Linked DNA regions of Homo sapiens: region 1 is linked to region 2. Evidence: promoter capture Hi-C in human tissues and cell types (Jung and others, 2019). All regions are on one chromosome and are shown on one strand. Each heading gives the region's core, a stretch centred on a gene start or on the middle of the fragment in contact. The rest is flanking DNA. Distances are from core to core; before and after follow the strand shown.

Region 1 (5,689 bases), core at 2,338-4,837, 42 kb before region 2:
TAAGGAAGAAGAGGTGAAATAAGGAAGAAAAGAGTGCTGTGGAGGAAAAATAGCCCATGCAATGAGAATGGAGGTGACTTTCACCCTAAGTACCAAAAGCCCCCAATAATTAATCTAATCTTGATTTTTGTTCTATACAATTAGCATGTTTTCCTATTTTCTATCTGTACTATAAAATTTGTATTAATATATACTGCTGACATTTGAAAGTTGTCCCACTGATTGCTTTATCTGTTTCTGTCCCCACCCATATTGCCAATGCTTTGTTGTCGGGGGCTTGTAAATTCTACTCAGTCTTCATAGTACCTAACCCAATACTAGACATGGTGGGTATTCAGTGAAGTCATGTTAATCTAATGACAAATGTGTGAATTTCAGTAGTTTCTCTTTGATCCAAAGGAATAGGCTTATACTTCCTTGTCCTTCAACAGAGAGCCAAGAACTCTTCAGAAATCATTTTCATGGGTTCCAGGACAATTCTTTCCTCTTACGGGACAAAGTGAAACACTATCTATTTTGAGGATACCCAAAAAGCATCTTAGCAACTTCATGTTTTTTCAATGCTATGATGATGACTTTTGCCAATGCTACTTGGTACTCAATGTCCAGAATAAACTAGAACAGGTTATTGACCTCCAGGCTGGCCTCTTTACACAGGCCTTCTTTCCAAGGACTCCATCGGGTACATGACAGGCATCTGAGAAGTACCGAAAGGACTAACTTCAAAAGACCACCTTCTAGTAAGAATTCAGAACCAAATAGTTTTTTAATGGTATTTCTTCACAGGTATTTAGTAAACAAATATTTTTAGACCTATGATAAAAATATGCTAAATGTTTATACATGCTTATAAACATATTAAATTAAAACACAAACACTTCAAAAGTCTAAAAGTTTATTGCCAGAATAGCAAACTTCATAAAGACACCTTAAAGTACATCGAATATGACAAGCAAAATAAACAGAAAACTTTGACCAAAGAAAAGATTGCCGCTGTCATGCACAGTCAAATTAATACCAAACCAAACAAGTACATCGAAGAGTATATGGGTTATACAATCCACACTCTGAAACTAAAGGAGACTCATTCCAAAATGCTTGGTTTTGGGTTGGGGGTTTGAGAGGGGGGCTGGTGCTGGGAGGGTAATTTTCTCCTAATACAGAATATGGAAATATTTAGATGAGAAGCAGAATGACTAAAATATCAGTGATCCATTTAATTTTTATCTCCAAGAATAGAAAACTGTATTATAGGCTTCCAAAATTAAAGAATTGATCAAAAATCGAAACACAGAAGAGAAGAAACAAATCCTAAGTTCGATTTGTGCTATTGTTACAACTGATTAGCACTTCAGACGCACTGCATCCAAGTGTACTGCTTATTTAAGATGAGCTAAGAAGATAAAAAGCCAGAACAGCCTTTACTATTTGATTTCAATCATGGCTATATTTTCTGTAAGCATAGAATGTCCTATCACTCTACTGCAAGCACCGGGATTTTCTTTTCTATTATTTAATAAAGTGGAAATTCATATAAATGAAGTCAAGGTATAGCAACCACTCCCAACTGACTACTAGTGCCCAATAGAACTACTGCTAAATGAGTAGGAATAAGAGTAGGAAGAATTCCCTGTGGCGTCAAAGCTTCCTCTCCGGGACCCACTGCGGGACCCGGAGCGAGATCCGGAGCGAGATCCCGAGCGGGAGCCGGAGCGGGACCCCGGAGCCGAAGACATGTTGTAAGGGCTGGGTAAGCCCTTGGACGACACGGAGGCGGCTTCCAGAAGGCGCAGCCCAGTGATATCTTCTACCATGGAGCGATTTATGGCATCCTTATAGGATATTTTTAATTTGGTTTTGGGGCAGGTCAGGATTTTGGCATAGCTGCTGGTGTCTTGCAGCCTCTGTGCGGCGCGGCCATCTATGAACCCCTTCCGGATGGCTTCTTCGGTGCTTATCCTCCCATGCACTTCCGGGTCAACAAGACCTCCCGTGAGGTACTGGAACTCCAGGAAGCGCTGGCCAGCCTCATACGGGAGCCATTTTTCTTTCACTGCCTCTGCTGCTGACATCTTCTTCTTTCCCTTCACACCCTCGAAGCCTATGAAGGCTTTCTGAGCAGGCTTCAGCCTGGTGGCCATGTCTTGGTCAATCACACCCTGGGAGACTGCGTCCTGAAGTGACAGCTTCTGGCCCGTGGTTGGGTGGATGATGCCACCTGTGCAGGCCTGAGCCTCCAGAAGCCTCTGACCCGTGATGCTGTCAACGATGCCCCGCTCTATACCTTCTGTAATGGAGATTTTCTCCAGGTTTTCTGTGTCAAAGATGGCTGCAATGGGGCTCGATTCTTCCAGGGTGTCTGAAAAAGAGCTGCTCCTTATGGTTAAATTCCTGACGCTGGATATGGTGGAAATCTTACTTACTGATTCATGTCGGGAGCTGCTAAAAACATCATCGCTGACACCACTGCCCATGCTGCTGCTGGTGCCGACACCATTTTTCAAGGAGATCATGTCAGCAAATTGAGTGAGGCTGAGGCTGCCGGATCGGTACTGATCAAAGAACTTCCTGTCAACAAGGCCCTTGTCAATAGCATCTTGAATATCATACTGACTGCCTGTCTTTCTATCTACCAGGACCACCCTGGTGGAGCCATCTGATCCCGTGATGGTTATTTCTTCCCATTCACATTCCTGCTCACACAGTTCTTTGAAGGTTTCATAATCAATTAGGCCCTTCTTGTAGGCCTCCTGAACAGACATTTCTTTATTGGTTTCTGGGTCAACTATGACCACTCTACGCTTCCTGAGGGTATTCTTTTGTGATGTCTGCACCTGTTTCTTCTTTTCTTTCAGAGGCAGAAGACAGAGCCCTGTTTCCTCATCCTTAATGCATCTTTCTTTTAGTTGCAGATAGGTAAGATTTTCTTCAGTGTTGGGGTCAAAAAATCCTTTGGTATCATCACTTGGATCTGAGAGAATCTCACTGAGTTCCTCATTGAAATAGCCCCTCTTATATGCTATGTCAACTGGTAAACGATGGCTCTCCTTTGGGTCAATGATCCCCCCGGTTGCGATCTGTGCTTCTAATAAGCGAATACCGTGGCCCTTTTCGATGAGTTCCTTATTCATGGCTTGGAACAAAGAGATGATGTTTCCTGTTTCAGGATCATTATACCCAGTGACAGCTCGTTCTGCAGACAGGAGCTTCTCTTTGAACTCAATGCCCACCAGACCTCTCTTGTAGGCTTCCTCCACTGGTAACCTCAAGTTGCTAACAGGATCCACTATAAAGCCAGTAGCTGCTTGGGCTTCCAGCAACTCCAGAGCAGTACCAGGTCGGACTAAGCCAATTTTCATGGCCTCATAAATGCCAAGCTTCTGTTTTGTGGTCTCATTGTATATGCCTGCTATGCAGCTTGAACCCTGGAGGAAGTCCTTAATTCTCTCACCAACCTCGTCATAAGAAATCTGACCAGATTCCAGTTCATTGACAGTGGACGGTCTCAATATACCAGAATCTACTAGCTCAGTGACGGTCACAGGTTGTCTGATTCCTTGGAAGGACATGCTTCTCTTCTGTACTGAAAGCAAGAGCAGACCAGTATGTGGTTCGATTCTGCACCGTTCCTTCAGCTGCACGTAACTGACCTTCTTTTTGGTGACTGGATCCACAAAGTTTTTCTGACTATCTCGGGGATCATTCAGGGATCGATACAAATCTCTATCAATCAGCCCCCGGGCCAAGGCGACATCTTTTGGCAAAAAGACACTGTTCACAGGGTCTACTACACCCCCTGAAGCAATCTGGGCTTCCAGCAGGCGCATTCCGGTTTCTCTATCAATCAAATTTTTCTTGATGGCTTCTGAAACAGATACTGTCTTGCCTGAAAATGGATCATCAAAACCAGTGATAGCTTTTTCTGCTGCATATATCTGCTGACGGTCATCGAAGTCAATGAGGTCCCGAGCTATGGCACTGTCGACAGTCAGCTTCTCATTCCGATGGGGATCAATTATACCACCTGTAGCTGCCTGGGCCTCCAGAAGCATGACTGTGGATTCTGGGCTGATTAATTTCTTTCTCTTGGCCTCTACCAAAGAGTATTTTTCCTTAGGAGAAGCAGATGCTCCAGCGATAGATCCTGCACCCCGAAGGAATGGCTGGATTTCAGAAGCAACTTCTTCCACTGACTTCTTCCCCTTCAATAGTTTGTCCAAGGTTGTTTTGTCGATCAGCTGACACTCATAGAGCTGCATTGCTGTCACCTTCTTCCTCAGCCCATCAAACACCAGCTTGGAGGTGTCAACGGTCCACTCACACTCAGTCTGGGTCTCTCGATGGGACCCATATGGGCGCTGTCTGAGTTTATCAATCTCCCTCTGATATCGGGAGCGTTCTGTTTCTAACTGTGACTGTGTCTCCCTGGTAGAATCCTCCAGCTTACGCCTGCACCTCTCTTCAATTCTCTTGATCTCTGCTTGGAGTCTTTCGATCTCACTCCTAAGACTGTTCTTCTCTCTCTCACTCTTTTCTCTTTCCGATTCTATCTTCCTAATAGCCTCCTCCTTGCGGGAATATTGAGTCTTCCACTGATTCAGGTCATTCTGAATTTGCTGTTTCTCACACTCCAGGCGCTGTTTCACCCTGGTTTCTGCCTCTAGAGTTGATTTTGCACGATTCAGCTCATCCTCCAGCCTCTGCAGCCTTGCCTTGTCTTGCTCCAGGACTTTGATTTTCACCAGAAGGCTCTCTCTTTCCTGTACCACCTGAGTACACTGATTCTTTGATTCCTGAATCCTATTAGATGCCTGGAATTGAAGAAGAAAGAAATGGGAAAAAATAATGTTTTGAATCATATCATATTACTATCACGACTTAACTTTCTTTTGTGTATCTATCTTTAAAAAAAAAAGCCTTGCTTATTTTTTCTTTCTATATTGTCCCTGGATACACTGTGAGCTTGTTATTTTACAAATTTGTGGGAAAAATTCTGTATATGTTGCCACTTCAATAAATGGCTTCATACTTACTATTTTTTTCTATAGAAGGAACTGTAAGTTGCAGACCTGTCTTACTCTTAACAATAATTATGCTTTGAAAAAATGTGGGGAGTTTTGTTTCAGGTTATCATACCTGCTACACCTACATCTCACCTGTTACAGCTAGATGAACATACTTAATGAAGCAATACAAATATATGAAGATATATATTATATAAAATATATATTATAGATAAATATATATTATGTAATTATATAATTATATATATAATATATAGATATACACACACACACACACACACACACACACCAACCCAGCCACACACAAATATTGTCTGTAGAAGTTAAATAAGTTATTTTTAAATTAAGGGTTAGGAGAAGGAAAGTCAAACAAAAGGAAACACACTAGGGCCATGATCAAAAGCGAACACTAAATAATCCATGCAAAAAAATCATCTAAGCAGGCAAAAGAAAAAGTGTTTTAAAAATTGCATAGGGAAACACTTTAGTATGGCTTCTATTTAAGAAAATTTTCATTACAAATGTATGTCATAGCTCACTAAATAAGAGCTAACTTCTAAGAAGTAGAATGGAACATTCGGAGGAAGTTATACATGTATTAGTGTTCTTAAAAGCAGGGCCAAACACAGGCTACCCAGAGATCAGCATTTGATGCAATTAAAGAA
Region 2 (5,589 bases), core at 1-2,500:
TGGATCAAAGCAGACATGCGGCCGGCGCTCTGCGATCCAAGGCACACTGGGGTCTTTCATCCGGTGTTTTTAAAAAGGAGGAAACAAAAGGCTCAGAGGCAGGGCCCCAGGTGCGCTCGCCCGCGGGGGCTGCGGCGCGGACGACCGAAGGTAACAGGCACGTCCCGGCCGAACTTCGAGACCCGGGCCCGGCAGCCGCCCCGGCGGGGAAGTTTCGTTTCCCGGACAGGGGAAGCCGAAGCGCCTCCTCGGGACAGGACCCCGCGCCGCCGGGACGCGCAGCCTTGATACAAACGTCCTTGGGTGGCCGAGGAGTCCAGGAGTCGTTGCAGTCGTGGTCTCGGGGTTACTGGGGATTGGGGGTGAGCCGGTAGAGACTGCGGAGCCCCGAGCACCACTCGGCCACCAGACAGGACCGGGGCCCCGCTCCTTTCCTCTTTTACTTTGATTACGGTTGGAGAGGTTGGGTTTTGTGGTCGCAGCCCCACCTCGCCTGACCTCCCATTCGCGGGCTGGGACAAAGGCGGCTGCAGCCGTGTCCAGCAGGCAGGGGACAGCCCCGCGCGGGCCCGACGCCCCCTCTGACCACCCGCCCGGGCTCGCGGGAGGGGAGAAAGGTACGACCGAGTCCCTGTTCGCAGGACAGGGGCCAACCTGTCCCCGCACGCGTCAGGACACCCGGTCCTGCTCCCAGCGCGGCCGGGAAGTTCTTTCGGGACCTGGGGCAAAAAAACCTTTCCACCTTCGGGACCCGAGTCTCCCAGTCGTCCAGAGGAGGACGGTCCCTCCCTGTCCCGCGAGCCCCGCAGCCCGCGCTCTCCGGGCAGGTACCCACCAGTAGCCGTCCGAGTTCTGGTCGGTGATCACGCCGCGCCGAGAATAGTACATCCTGCTGGTGCCCCCGCCGCCGCTGGTCACCTCGTAGCGCAGGTCCGGGCCAGACTCGGCGCGGATCATGCGGCCCAGAGTGTTGATCCGCGGGTGGGAGCCTCCGTTGCAGCTCATGTCGGCGGGCAATCGGGAGAGCGGCTCAGCGCCGAGGCATAAGCGAGGCGGGCCGGCGCGGAGAAAGCGGAGGGGGCCAAGGATAGGCGGACGGCCGGGGAACCGGGCGGGAGTGCGGAAGGCTCGCGAGGTCGCTGCTCGCTACCTGGGCCCTCCCGAGGCCGCTGCGAGCGCGGAGACGGCGACGGGCCGGGGGCAGGAGCGGGAGGAAAGCTGTGGCTCGGAGGGCGGCAAGGGCGCAGAGGAGCTGCGTCGGAGCTGGGTGTTGGTGTTGGTCGGCGGCGGAGCGAGTCTCCTCCCCGCTGGCACTGGGCGCCTAGGCCACACCTGGCCGGTTTCTTCCCAGGGTGGGGTGCGGCCGCCGCGCCTTCCCCGCCCCCCCGCGGGTGTCACCGACGCGCTCCGGCCGCCCCTCCCCACCTGCGCCCGCCGCCCGCGACTCCGCCCTGCGCCACCGAGGCCTGAGTAACACCGGGCGGGGCGGGGGCGGGGTCCCCGAGACCCAAGCGCCCTGGGCGAAGCCACCGCGGGGAGGACCTGCGCTCGCGGGGGCTGCTGCGCTCTGCGCTGGGGCCTCTCGGGCTGGGAATGCGTGGCCCGGCTTTTGAGGATTTCCTCGGTCCCCGGGCGGAAATAGCTGGAATGGAGGGGCCTCTCGATTGGAGACTTACTGGTCAAATATTTACTTTTGTTGATCACTGGAAACGCTACCTACCACGCATTGACTAGGACCACAGTGAGGAGGGAACGCTTTAGATGATAGAGTTTTGTTTGGGGGCTTTTTTTTGTTTTGTTTTATTCCAGGAATTCAGGAAATTGCCCCAGAAGTCCGATTTCTGATGTGTAAAACCTTTTTTTACAGAAAACCACGACTTCCTGGAAAAGTCTTCACCGTAAATATTAATCTCTTTGGCATGAAGAGGAAAACACTGCAGCTAATTTTTCATGGGATAACAAAAATATAAACTGCAATTTCTTTTATTTTTTCCCTTTCGATGGTCTTTTTAAACGAGGAGTAAAGATTTCAACGCCAGGTCCATTTTCCAAATTTTGTACCAGAACCTTGAGGATGCTTGTCTCTCGCGCGCTTCTCCGCAGACCGAACCCTCTCCGGAACTCAGAGCTGTTCACCCAAGTCAGCGGAGGAGGCCTCCTGGGACTTGAGCCTGAGGGTGGCGAAGAACCCTAGGCAGAGATCATCAACTTGGTACCGATGAGTGACGCGGAGCTTGAACATTCCAGCGACTTGCTCCAGGGCCACTCCCAGTTAAGAGGCTGAGTGTTAACTGCAAGAGGCTGAGTGTTAACTACGCCGTTGGCTCCAGGAACCGAACCGGGTTTGGATACAGACCCAGTCACACCATCCATGAAAAGCTGTTTCTATAATATGAAAAATTGTTAAATGACGCTTTAGTAAAAGCCATTTAAAGATCTTTTCTAATAAATTTTTCATCTTTCCAAACAATGCCGCTAATTACCTTCTGATACAGTGCGTTTCCAAAATGTTTATGAACTGAAAACAAAAATAAAAAACTACATTTTTATGTTGTAAAGGGAGTGGGGGGGACTTTCTAAAATTTGTCGTATTATAGCACTTCTCATGACAACTTGACCCTTTAGGCATAATTTTTGACAAAATGTCTTGTTCTTTTTCTTTTTACAGCTGAACGTCTTAAATTCAAGGAGTAAACACATATAATGAGATAAAAGTTTATCACTGTTAGCACAACCAATAATTTGCATCGTAGTCTCAATTTCCTCGAATCTTTAATAAAACCAAAGTGGTCAAGTGTTTAAATGATTATACAGATTGAGTACCCCTTATCCAAAATGCTTGGGACCAGAAATATTTTGGATTCTGGATTTTCTTGGATTTTGCAATAGTTGCATAGACGTAACGAGAGATCTTTGGGGATGGAACTCAAGCCTAAACATGAAATTTATTTATGTTTTCTATATGCCTTATACACATGGCCTGAAGGTAATTTTATACAATATTTTAGATAATTTTGTGCATGAAACAAAGTTTTGACTGCACTTTGACTGCAAGTCATCACATGAGGTCAGGTGTGGAATTCGCCACTTGTGGTCATCATGTCAGTGCTCAGAAAGTTTGGATTTGGGAGCATTTTGGATTTCAGATTTTCAGATTAGGGATGCTCAACCTGTACAAACACTGATCTATAGACAAGACGGTGGTTTTTCTCAAACAGAATCAATGGCTGGAAGTCAGCCTCTGCACAAACAGCCCATAATATCCATTGGTGGAGGAGAGAAAGACATGCATGGAGGGAAAATGTCAGTGCATAATGTACAACATTTCATTTAGGATGTTTTCCCTCTATGCATCTCATTTGTTCAGCAAATAATTATAACCTAGGATATGGAAATACTCTGCAACATACAAAGATAAATAGGGTCCAGTCACTGCCCTTAAATATATTATAGTAAAACTTTGATTTAAGAAATTCAGGGGCCCGTGCGGTGGCTCATGCCTGTAATCCCAGCACTTTGGGAGGCAGAGGCGGGTGGATCACTTGAGGTCAGGAGTTCGAGACCAGCCTGGCCAACATGATGAAACCCCATCTCTACTAAAAATACAAAAATTAGCTGGGTGTGGTGGCAGGCGCCTGTAATCCTAGCTGTTTGGGAGGCAAAGGCACGAGTATCACTTGAATCCAGGAGGTGGAGATTATATTGAGCAGAGATCGTGTCATTGCACTGCAGCCCAGGTAACAGAGCAAGACTCTGTCTCAAAAAAAAAAAAAAAAAAAAAATTCAGGGATTATTCTTCCCTAATGTGTAATAAAGAGGCTACACAATTGCACGGTAGAATTATCCTTTTAAAAAAAACCCACATATCTATTAACCACCCCCCCAGTGGTAACAAAAGCTCTTGTTAGCCAAGGGTCCCCTTACGGTCATAGGAACCAGGCTCCACACAGACCCAAACACCACCCAGACTCACAAAACTGTTCAATCTGCAGGCAAAACAGAGGAGGAGGCGAAGAGCCCACGCCACCAATCACACCTCTGGCTGCGTTGCTTCCTCACCCATCTTACTGCTTCCTGGGCTTTTCCAGGCATCCCCAAGAACACGAACGGCTTCCAGCTACCAAACATGCCTGCTCTAGGAAGACAGTGGCTTTCATTTATCTTTCTCTAAGGGTGATAAAGAAAGATAAGAGGATAAAATAAACAGATTGACATGCCCGACAGATGGAACACCCCCCACCTCAACACACACCCACACACATGCACATACACACACACACACATCAGTTGTCCAGGTTGGCTCATCACACAGTGAAGAGCGAGGATAACTTGCCCATAGTTATAATCTTAGTGCTACAATTTACTTATGCAAGAGCTCAATTTCTTCATGTGTATAATGGAAATAACACTTGCTCTGCCAACCTTCCAAATCCACAGTGAGGGTCAAATGAGATAAAATACGTGAACATTCTTGAACACTGTGAAACATATAAAGCTTAAGGTACCACCTGTTAAGCCAAAAGTTCTTTGCTGGATGCGAAATTTTAACCGTTAATGTTCCTGTCTTTATCCCACATGTAAATCAGTAAACCTCCCTCTTGGACACATTTAAGATGCATTCATTTAGAAAGCAGTTATTGAACATCTACCATGTTACACAACAGATTCAATGCTAGACACATGAAGATGAATAAAGCATGACTCTTTTTCTGCAGGATATCAAAGTCTGCAGTAGTAAAACAAATAATTACAATACAACATTAAGTATGCTATAATGAAGGTATATTTATAGAATTTTGAAAGCGCAGCAAAGAGGTTTAAAAGTAGCTTGTTTTCTTACAACTTGGTTTAAAAAATCAGAATCCAAAGTCTGGCAGAGTCTTCACTGGCTGACCTAAGGTCAGCTATTTTTTCCCTGCCACTCATAGATAGCTCCCCTTGTACTGATAAAACAGATCACTGACAGGCAACTTTCTCTCTGGCTGACCTTAGAAATCACCTTGCAGTTAGGAAAGACGAATCAGTCATATTCAGAGCAGATTTTTAAAAGAAAACGACACTTTGATTTCAGTGAGATTAAGAAGAATCATTTACTTGCTCAAAATCCCATGGGAACTCTCTATATCTTTGTGTTGGTAAATGATACCTCTTCATCACAAGAAGATTTATAGCCCATGAGTTAAAATAACTGTTCTGCCTAACAGAGGAGTAGTTCTGGGGTTTTTGTTTTGTTTTGTTTTGTTTGAGACAGAGTCTCACACTTGTCGCCCAGCCTGGAGTGCAGTGGCATGATCTTGGCTCACTACAACCTCTGCCTTCTGAGCTCAAGTCATCCTCCTGCCTCAGCCTCCCCAGTAGCTGAGACTATAGGCGCACACCACCACACTGGACTAATTTTTGTATTTTTTGTAGATACAGGATTTCACCTTGTTGCCCAAGCTGATCTGGAACTCCTGGGCTCGAGCAATCCACCCACCTTGGCCTCCCAAAGTGCTGGGATTACCGGCATGAACCACAGTGCCCGGCCAAGGAGTAGTATTTTAATAAGTCAAAATTACAGGCAGAAGCTAGGATTGGAACCATAATGTG

The links. Contacts are between HindIII fragments. The study calls those that stand out against the background at their distance.
Region 1: a fragment that was not itself captured here is called in contact with the fragment with the promoter of DSP in region 2 in 1 of the 25 tissues and cell types used here (ovary).

The regions. Positions count from the first base shown.
Region 1 is chr6:7,581,764-7,587,452 of GRCh38, reverse strand. It overlaps DSP (desmoplakin), which reads right to left. Exons shown (of 24, transcript NM_004415.4): 24 at 739-4,811. The coding sequence ends at 1,575. Among named protein-coding and RNA genes, the nearest start is that of SNRNP48, 5.6 kb to the left of the region's middle. The HindIII fragment of the contact is 7,043 bases long and covers 66-5,689 here.
Region 2 is chr6:7,537,332-7,542,920 of GRCh38, reverse strand. It overlaps DSP (desmoplakin), which reads right to left and starts at 1,250. Exons shown (of 24, transcript NM_004415.4): 1 at 836-1,250. The coding sequence starts at 1,005. DSP-AS1 (DSP antisense RNA 1) reads left to right here. Exons shown (of 2, transcript NR_183331.1): 2 at 1,868-2,470. RefSeq lists an enhancer at 3,262-5,589. The HindIII fragment of the contact is 11,377 bases long and covers 1-5,589 here.